2 separate regions of the Homo sapiens genome follow, and region 2 is linked to region 1. The links are contacts of gene promoters, found by promoter capture Hi-C in blood cells and fetal thymus (Javierre and others, 2016). All regions are on one chromosome and are shown on one strand. The core of a region is centred on a gene start or on the middle of the fragment in contact, and the rest is flanking DNA. Distances in the headings are between cores, read along the strand shown. Region 1 holds the start of COMMD8 (COMM domain containing 8). Region 2 overlaps NIPAL1 (NIPA like domain containing 1).

Evidence for each region. Contacts are between HindIII fragments. The CHiCAGO score rates a contact against its expected background, and 5 or more counts as called.
Region 2: a fragment that was not itself captured here is called in contact with the fragment with the promoter of COMMD8 in region 1 in 1 of 17 cell types (total B cells); the score reaches 6.4 in total B cells.

The regions. Positions count from the first base shown.
Region 1 is chr4:47,460,643-47,465,728 of GRCh38, reverse strand. It overlaps COMMD8 (COMM domain containing 8), which reads left to right and starts at 2,027. Exons shown (of 5, transcript NM_017845.5): 1 at 2,027-2,143. The coding sequence starts at 2,078. It overlaps LOC107986277 (a long non-coding RNA gene), which reads right to left and starts at 1,846. Exons shown (of 3, transcript XR_001741683.3): 1 at 1,778-1,846. RefSeq lists an enhancer at 339-388 and a silencer at 2,037-2,296. The HindIII fragment of the contact is 2,743 bases long and covers 1-2,403 here.
Region 2 is chr4:48,030,845-48,035,930 of GRCh38, reverse strand. It overlaps NIPAL1 (NIPA like domain containing 1), which reads right to left. Exons shown (of 6, transcript NM_207330.3): 4 at 2,848-2,938; 5 at 890-1,050; 6 at 1-369. Among named protein-coding and RNA genes, the nearest start is that of NIPAL1, 17 kb to the right of the region's middle. The HindIII fragment of the contact is 959 bases long and covers 1,721-2,679 here.

The sequences.
Region 1 (5,086 bases), core at 778-3,277:
CAATTATACAATTTACAGGGTTGTTGTAAGGAATGAGAAACACAGAGAAGTGAAAATAGCTTGCCCAGAGTACATAGTCATTTGCAGAGCCAGGGTTTGAACTTATGAAGTTTAGCTCCAGAGTTCATGCATTTAAAGATTGCTATAGTACAAATAAGATTTGGGAGATGGAGACCAGAATATACCTCATAGAGATGGAACTACAAGAGACAGACATATGTTTTGAAAACCTCTTGGATTACACACATAAGAACATCCTCTTACTAATCAAAGGGCAAATATTAAGCGCTGTCTCTCTTGCAAGTTGTTAACTATTTTGGAAACCATATTTGTTGCAGGCTAAATTTTGTCCCATCCAAATTCAAGAGTAAAGATCAAATTCTTCTTAGTACTCAGTGTTGCTTGAAAGATGAGTTAGGACCTAATTCTCTGTCCTCTGACTAAACCTTGGGCCCTGTTAGGTGTGTCATTTTACCTTATTTAGTCATGTTACGTGGCCTTAGGTAAGCCATATCATTTCAGTTCCTCAGCAGGGGTAGTCAAGCATGCAAACTGAGATCACCGTTTCTGGCCTCAGACCAGTGATTTTGTAACTACTATCTATGTGACCTTACAAAATATATTACTTCAAGTTCATTTCCTCATCTGTAATACCCACTGTACAAGGCTGTAGCAGGAATTAGTAAGATAAAAATATATGAAGGGTTTGACATATAGTAGATGCTTGAAAGTACTTTTCTCCCAATTATTATAATACATAAAATTTAAGTTTTTTTCTCAAAATAGACCTTACCCATCATTAGATTTACAGAAAGACTCAGGTGAAGTAGTTTTCCAGACTTCTCATTTTAACTATTACTAGGGGAGCTCCTATTCACAAAGTATCTTAAGACAATTACATTTAAGATAGGGCAATGAGTGTTGTGCATCTATCTGCATTAAGAACTAGAAAGTGGTAAATAAGTGAGGGACAGCTAAAATATCATGAAAACTCACGGGAGAAAGAAATTGACTTCACCTTTTAGAGTTGAGGCACACAGAGAAAGGACGTAGGAGGTAAACCTAGAATGCTGCTAATGAGTAGTTTTTCTCTGCGTAGCCCATAGATTGAATACTTTCTCTTCTGCTTCACCATTTTGCACCACTTTTATTATTAAATTTATAAATTAGATTGTAATTCCTGTTTCTGGTCTACTAGTTATTATTATCCGCTTTTGCAGGACATGCTCATTTTACCACCACTGAATTCTTCAGCACCTGATTAAAGTAACAGCTGTAATAAGAAATAACAGAAAGGATATTTGGACTTTGAGCTTAGTCCAACATTAATAGCATGGCTCTTGAGTCTGATTGATTTTGTTTAACTTCAGACTGGGCCTCTTACTTAGGTCAGTGATTTTTAGCGTTGCCAGATAAAATACAGGACACCAGTTAAATTTGAATTTCAGATGGACAAATAATTTTCAGTATAAATATATCCCATACAATATTTAGGGGATACTTACAACAAAATATTATTGTTTATCTGAAATTTCACATTTAACTGGACGCTTGGTATTTTCATTTGCTAAATCTGACAACCTTAGTGACTTCTCTAATCATGTTTGCTTTCTGCAAATAGGGCTGAAAATAGTACCTTCTCCCTAGGATGATCTATATACAGAACGTTGCTCATGGCAAAACCTTAATTTACCTTGCAAATCAGGATACTTTAGTAGAGACTTCTGTTAAAACTCTGGGACAATGACCATGCCCAGGCACCCAAAAAGATGGTTACCTTTATTCGACGGTTTTCTAAAGAGCACAGAGAAAGTTCAATAGAACCCTAAACAAAGGTACAAACTGCGTTGAAAGATACGTAAATGTGCCTTTAATAGCACAAGGGTATCTTAGCCACATCACTGCAAACTGCAGTCTCCCTGGTTACGGGGAAAGCGGTAGTTCGGTCTCTGCGCAAGCGCACAGGGACTTCTTGGGTCCACGCCCCTCCCCGCCGGCGAGAGTCACGTGGGCGAGTCGTAGCTTTAGACAAGCGGCCAGCCTTGACACGTGACCCAAGCCCCAGCTTCGCGCAGGGATGGAGCCGGAAGAGGGGACGCCCTTGTGGCGGCTGCAGAAGCTGCCGGCCGAGCTGGGCCCGCAGGTGAGGGCGGGTACCGGGGGAAGCGGCGCGGGGCCTGGGATTCGCGACAGCCCGGCGTGCGGATCAGGCCGGGTGCGACCCGGACGCCTTCGCAAGCTCCCTAGGGAAGGGAGGAGGAAGGGGCGTGATTTCGGGTGGTTGGTCCCCGCCTTCCCTGGGGAGCCTAGGAGGACAGCTTGGGGCGCCACCCCCAGCCTAGAGGTGCAGCTCCAGGGGCTTTGCGCGCAGAAGCGCCCACACCAGACTGGGCTTTGAAAGCTTAAGTCGGTGTTTGCTGCCTCTTAGTATACGTTTTCTTAATTCATTCAACACATAACCTCCCAAAGGCTCCCTACCTACCGGACAGCAGGTACAGAGCTAGGTGCTGGAATACAATGTGACAAAGACCGAAGCGGACCCTGCCTCCCCCCTTGAGGGTGGTTGGTAGGAAGAGAAATAACTGGGCGAGTTACTTTAGTTAGGATCGTCCCAAGAGGTGATGTACCCATTGACTTCCAGTCTGTAAAAGAACCTGGCTTGTAAGAATCTGGAAAAAGCAACCACATTCATTTGTTCAGCCAGTTTTTCATTGAAGTCTACCATAGATTGAGCGCCCCGATGGGATGAGGTAAATGGTGAGTGAGACACAGCCTGTGCCCTGGTGGAGCATCTTTTTTATAAGTCTCAATTTTGGCTTCCTGTTTCCTCTATTCCATTTATACTGGAGAAAGTGTGGAGGAGACAGAAAGGAATGAACTTACCTCCTGCCAGGGTCAAGAAAAAAAAACACCTAATTCTTTTCTTTGTTTTTGCAAGTGAGGAACCTGAAATGTCAGCAGAAATTTTGGCTAACTTGCCCAGGATTGCCCATCCAGTTAGTGGCAGAGCTGGAACTTATGCTCAGATCTGTTGATTCTGAGTGTTTTATTGGCTTTTGGCTCTCCTTGTCTTCACTCTACCCATTTAGATAAGGCCCATAACCTTTATTACCATATATGTCGATGACTTCTAAATCTTTAGGTCCAGCCAAAAATTTCTTCCTCTATGGTTCAAGAATGCCAGGTAAAAAACAAAACAAAACCCCAAAAACCCCAAACCAAAATCTCTTCCCTGAGTGTCAGGCTTCTGCCACAGGTACCTCAAATTCAGTATGCCCTTGCCTCAGCTCTTCTTTCCCCCTGGACCTACTCCTCCCGTAGCCTCATTTTCGGTTTGTGGCACCACCACTTTCACCCAGCCCCTCTCAACCTGACGTTCTAGGTTTCATCCATGGCCCCCCCTTTTCACATCTCTTCTACCTCTTTACTGCCTCCATTTTGAGTGTCCTCAACAATTTAAGCCCCTTAATCTTTAACTCCTTAACTGAAAATTGAGGCATCTGGGCTCACCCTCTCTCTTACATCTTCCAACCTGTTAGCAAATATATGGAAAAATAATGCAAATGTGTGAATAGGTTGCTTCCCGGTTGAGCACAGATTGAAGTCTAGGCTCTTTTACTTTGTACACAAGGCCCTTTTTGATTTGGCTCCACCCACCTCTCCAGCCTTGTCTCCTGTCACCCCCTAGGCACCCCCCAAAATAACTTGCTTGTGTCTAGAAATGCACTTCTTCTCTCCTGTTTTGCTTGGCCAACTACTCATCCTTTTAAGATGGACTTTTCCTTGCTTCCTCTCTGTGCTCCTTCGTACCTTGTATATATTTTTATTATGGCCCCATCATTCTAAATTACATGTATTTGTATGTTTGCCTTTTTCGAATGGACTAAAGCTCTGTTATGGTAGGGCCTTATTTATTCTCAGTTTCCTCATTTGTAAAATAGAAATAATAACAATGGTTACTTCAGAGTTGTAGTGAGGATCAGTCCAGAGTGTGGTACCTAGTTAGGGATCCATAACGGTAGCTATTATAGTTTCTTTGCCATTAAATAAAGTCATTTCCATGACCTTTGTCATTAAATAAGGTCATTTCCATGACTTTATTTAATAACTGGGATGAAGTGTTCATTACATATTTGTGAATGAATAACAAACATATTCCAAAAAAGATAATGCTTTTATTTTTCAGTTTGAGTTCTGGGTTTTTTTTTTAGCATGGGGACAGTATAGGATAAGGTGTAGAGAATTTTGAATGGATTCAAAATTGAGTATGTTGATTTATGGTAAATAAAAATTCAGTTTGTATAGTATATTAGCCACCATTTGGAAGCAGTTGCTTGTGTTCTGGCATGTGTGGTGTTAGAGGGAAGGAGTTATTAGTTAAAATGGGGTGGAATATGATTATTTCCAAGTTATTTGGTTCAAATACTCCTCTTGTAAGATACAAATAACTTCAAGAAAGATAACCTTATTAAATGTTAAGTGCTTAGAATAGTACTGGCATTGTGTTATCTCAGTTAATAGATGCTGAAGGCATGAATTGGAGGAGGAGGACTAGTGATAATAATTAGAATGGTAACGAGGGCTAGCAATGTCTACATGTCTTTGTACATGCCAGGAAGATGCCAAGTGATTTGCACGTATTCTTATTCCATCCTTACAGCAAGATTAAGAGAATAGATGATATCCTCATTTAACACTTGAGGAAGCAGACTCAGAACATTTAAATAAAACTTGAAAATACTGAAACTGGGATTGGAACTGGATAGTTTTATTCCAAAATCCGTAGTCTTAATCACTATGCTCAGTTATACATGTGTTAGGCTTTCTGTTGCTGATATTAAGATACTAATAGGATAGAAAGGAAAGTAAAAAAAGGAAAAAAGTACTGGAGACTTTCTGGGAATACAGCAAAAGTAACTGCTGAGCTGGGTGCGGTGGTGCTCGTCTGCAGTCCTAACTACTTGGGAGGCTGAGATGGGAAAATTGCTTGAGTTCAGGAGTTCAAGGCCAGCCTGGGCAACATAGTGAGACCCTCAAAAGAAAAAAAAGTATGTTGTGAAAATGGAGGCAAAGCAAAATGAAGCTT
Region 2 (5,086 bases), core at 951-3,450, 570 kb before region 1:
CATACCACTCTTGGAATAAGATGGCAGAGCAAGTCACTACCATGGATGTGAAGAATACATAATAAATGGGTGTCACAAGAGAGGTATTAAAGGTGTCCAGTGCCTTGTTGAGATAGTTAATCTGTGTAGTTACTGAAAGCACAAGTACAGCCAGCAAAACAAAGACCAGCGGATGTTTGTAAACTGGCTTCCATTCTATCAGCTCCTTAATGGCAATTCCCAGGCCTTTCACAGAAGAAACTGAAAACGCTCCAATCAAGGAACAGATTGAAATATAAACCAATATATTGGTCTGTCCTTTCTTGGGAGCCACAATCAAAATCAGCACCAAGGAGATCACAGTTATGATCACAGCAAAGGAAATAAACCCTGTTAGAAGGAGAAAAGAATTTGACTTTAGAAAATGCTCACAGGATTATACCTTTCTGAAATCTTGTTAGTCATGAGTTTAAGAGCATAGGTATTTTAGAAATAGAAGTGAGATCAAATTAAAAACAACATTCTATTGCATAGTTCTCAATATTTTACAAAGGATTTTCACAAACATATCATTTAAATCTCACCAATACCACTATGAGCTAGGGCGAATATTATCAGATTAACTTTTTATTTTCAGAGGAAGAGAGTGGCAAAGATTTGATTTTGAATATATGTCTTTTGCCTCTACCATCCCCACCTCTCCCTTTCATTGTGTAACAGGGGAAGCATGAACACAAAAATAAGTTCTGCCATCTTTTCAGGAGAAATAATAATCAAACCTCACTGTGTCTCACAACCCACAATGCGGCCCACAATGTAGAAAGCTTATTACAATATTATTACAGATACTATTTGGTGAGGAGAGAAAGTGGAGCAGAATTTGAGTGGTTCTTTAGGTTGAATCACAGACCTGGGTCTCTCAATTTCATTTCCATTTCATGCAAAGATGTGACTTCCTCTTCTTGTGGGGCATGGATAACCATCACAGTTGACCCCAATATACTTAATATGCAGCCTATTTTCCCATGAATGTTCAAGTGCTCGTTTAAAAAGTAGGAAGATAATATTGCACTGTTGGGAGAGAAAAAATTAAAAATCACTATAGCTCAATTACCTTTTGATCCCATGGCAGCTCAGAAGTCACACTGTGGTACATGCCACCATGTATCCCAATGAGCTGACTGGAATATGCTATATGACACTGAAACCCTAGATTGGTTTGAAACTCAGAACTGATGGGCAATCAAATATGCTTCACTGTTTTTATATCTAAAGAGCTATAATATTCTATATCCCATAATCTTCCAGTGATCTTACAAGAGGTTCTACTCAAGTCATTTTCAATTTACCCATCTTTTCCTGTAAAGCCAAACAAAATAGAAAATCTTTTATATCTTACTGGCATGATACATTTAGAATATGTATGCCCATGGATGTTTCCAAGAAAGATACATTCCTAAAGAAAAATTACTCTGCTCAGGGCTAATAATCAGCTAGTTCACACCACTACAATCAAACGGACCAGGGGTATCCAATCTTTTGGCTTCCCTAGGCCACACTGGAAGAATTGTCTTGGGCAACACATAATATACAGTAACAGTAATGGTAGCTAATGAGCTAAAGAAAAAAAAATCACAAAAAAAACTCATAATATTTTAAGACAGTTTACAAATTTATGTTGGGCCACATTCCAAGCCGTCCTGGGCCACATGCAGCCCATGGGCCATGGGTTGGAGAAGCTTGATACAGACTTTCAAAATATCAAAATACTTCCTTACCACCTGTTACTGCTCTGATACTTAGACCTATCCAGTACTGCTAATGCTTCAGTTGCTGTGGTTTCTGCAAGCCAGCCTCCTTCCTCTAATGCTCTGGCATCCCCATGAAGGCAATTAAGTACCCATCTGTCCTCAAGATTATGATAAATTACCAGGTACTTTCCTAGAGTTGCCCTCATGTGGCCACCTTTAGGACTGCAGCCTTAGTGAAGATACTACTATTACTACTACTACTACTAGCTATTCATTGCATAGACAAGTGTTTGAAGTGCTTTATGTGTATTAACTCACTTAATTTTCATAACAATCCTATACAGAAGCTAAAAAGAATTTAGTAGGCTCAATCATAGGTTTTATACTAGAGGTTGGTAATGAATAGAAAACAAAAAGACAAGAAAAGAACAGACAAAAATGTATATGCTTATCAAACACATTCATTTGGGATCATAATAAACTCAGAAAAATTAGATCCACATTCCATGAAATAGGAAAATTATTCCTGTTTCCACTATCAAAACTACAGGGTCTCCAAACAGAAGTATCCAGCAAACAATGCAAGAATTGTAGTGAGAGTTAAAATTTAACCAAAACACCATGCTTGTAAAAGTCCTCTGATAACTATGGTCATTAACCACTATGATGAGGAAAATAATTGACAGGACTCTGGCAATTTGTTCTGATGAGAGATTTAAAAAATCTTCTATGCTTCATTGCAGTGTTACAAATGTAAAACACATTTATGTTAGTAGGAAATCAAACTCACTGTGTCTTAGGTTTTTAAAATAATAATGTGACAGTCTATTTCCTATTTCTACTGTTATTTTATAGTCTTCTCAAGTTATTTTTGTGATTTCAGGCAAGAAAAAGTATTGTTCTCACTTTATGAATGAGTAAACTGAGCCTGAGTGACTTGACCAAAGCTTCCCAGGAGCCTCAGAAATAATTTGGGTTCATCTAGACTTTTAGAGCCCAGGTTGGTCTAGATTTGTGTGTTTGCTTTTAGATATCCATAGCCATATGTTTATTATGGTTTAAGTTTATCTTGGTCTTAAAATACCTACAGAAGCCAAGTTCCCTGTTGCTCACATACCTTATGAGAACACTCAAAGCACCCAGAGGGGTGACCAAGGTGGCAGGTGCAAAAGCATAAGCAGCAAAATTTGCAGCCTCTCCTGCTCCCACTAGAAAGCAAGCAGAGATATTGATATAAAAAATGGGCTTACTTGTCAGAAGAGAAAAACAAATGACTCATGCAAAGCAGTGGACTTTTAACCCAAATACATGGGAAGATCTAGCTAAAAAGAATGATGTAACATGTTTTATAGCAGGTAGGAGATAATTAATATTAAGAGATGCAGACAAACTGTAATACCAGGTGATAAACTCAAAAGATGCAAAAAATGGTGACAGATGAGTACTCATTTTAAATGGCTTTCAATAGAAATTTTTAGCTACTTCAATATTGAAGACATATTTGGTGACTCTAATGAAATCTAGTAGAGGTAGCTTTGTAGTAAGCAGAGAATTATTTCACTTGCTCAAGAATACCTACAGCTTTGTAGGTTACCCACAGAAACCAAAACCAGCTTGGAAAATTAGAATGGTTAAATCTGGTGTGTAGGTAGGGAATAGCCAGAAATACCTGCCATAGGCCCATGAAGTTAGATATCCCTCTATTGTAAGTGATCTATAAGCAAGTAACAGTATCTCAGTAGCTTAACGAGATCCAGGCAGCTGTTTTAAAGTCATGATATGCTCCTGAATGTAATCTTTTTCTTATCTGAGGAACTCTAGACTTGCATGATATAGTGTGCTATAAATAACTTCTAGAGTGAGAGAAATCCCTTCAAGAGCTGGGCTCTGGTACTGGGGCCAAGTTATTCTCACAGAACACAGTGGGAAACTTGCCCACAGAATGTAGTATTTCATGCTGGCAACTACACCAGGCAAATGCTTATTGTAGAGAGAGAAAGGAACACCAGCATGATTTTTTTCTTTTTCCCTTTGTCTGGCTGCTACGCTACATCCCCCCAAATCTATAGGAGTATTCACCATTAGGAAAACATCATTAAACAAATCTAAATTTACAGAACAGAATAATTAAGACATTGCTATCATCGAAAGAATCACGGCAAGGCCGGGCATGGTGACTCATGACTGTAATCCCAGCACTTTGGGAGGCAGAGGGGAGAAGATCACTTGAGGTCAGGCGTTCGAGATCAGCCTGGCCAACATGGTGAAACCCTATCTCTACTAAAAATACAAAAACTAACCGGGTGTGGTGGCAAGCGTTTTTAATCCCAGCTACTCTGGAGGCTGAGGCAGGAGAATCGTTTGAATCTGGGAGGCGGAGGTTGCAGTGAACCGAGATCACGCCACTGCACTCCAGCCTGGACGACAAGAGCGAGACTCTGTCTAAAAAAAACCGTGGCAGTTTTCTTGGAATATTAAGGTTTCCTTGGATACTTTATATTATTTATATTTTTATCTTTATAGATAGCTTTCCAGGAAAACAACGACTTCATGATTAAAGTACTGTATATATATCACTTACTTAATCTCTAATGTATGCTTTTCTCTCTTCAATACTGACATAAACTTTTTTACACGGTGAAAACAAAATTGCAAATGTAGTCACATAATACTCTCCTCATATTTTCATTATAAAGTATGGGTAGAGGGTGGGGAGATGCAAGTAAGACAGAAAAAGAGAAAGATCCAAATACCTATCTGGAATCTTCCCAGACAGCCCTTGTCAATTTTTATTCAAATAAAGAAAATGGATGTAAAAGCACCCTAAAAACTGAAGGGGTGGCCGGGCGTGGTGGCTCACGCCTGTAATCACAGCACTTCTGAAGGCCGAGGTGGGTGACCTGAGGTCAGGAGTTCGAGACCAGCCTGGCCAACATGGTGAGAACTTGTCTCTACTAAAAATACAAAAATTAGCTGGGTGTGGTGGTGTGTGCCTGTAATCCCAGGTACTCGGGAGGCTGAGGCAGGAGAATCGCTTGAAACTGGGATGCAGAGGCTGCAGTGGGCCGAGATCCTGCCAGTGCACTCCAGCCTGGGCCACAGAGCAGGACTCCATCTCAAAAAAAACAAAACAAAAAACAAAAAAACCCCAAAAAAATCCACAATAAACAAGAACTGAAGGGGCTATACATATTTAAATTCTCTTTATTAATCATCCTTTTAGATTCCACCATTTATTAAAGAAAAGGTACCCAGTTCCTTCTCATAACAGGATCTTACAAATACTGAAATGTGTTGCTTGGTTTGGGGAAATTCAGGGAAGCTTTAAGACTCCTGGCTACAGAGGGAATTTATGA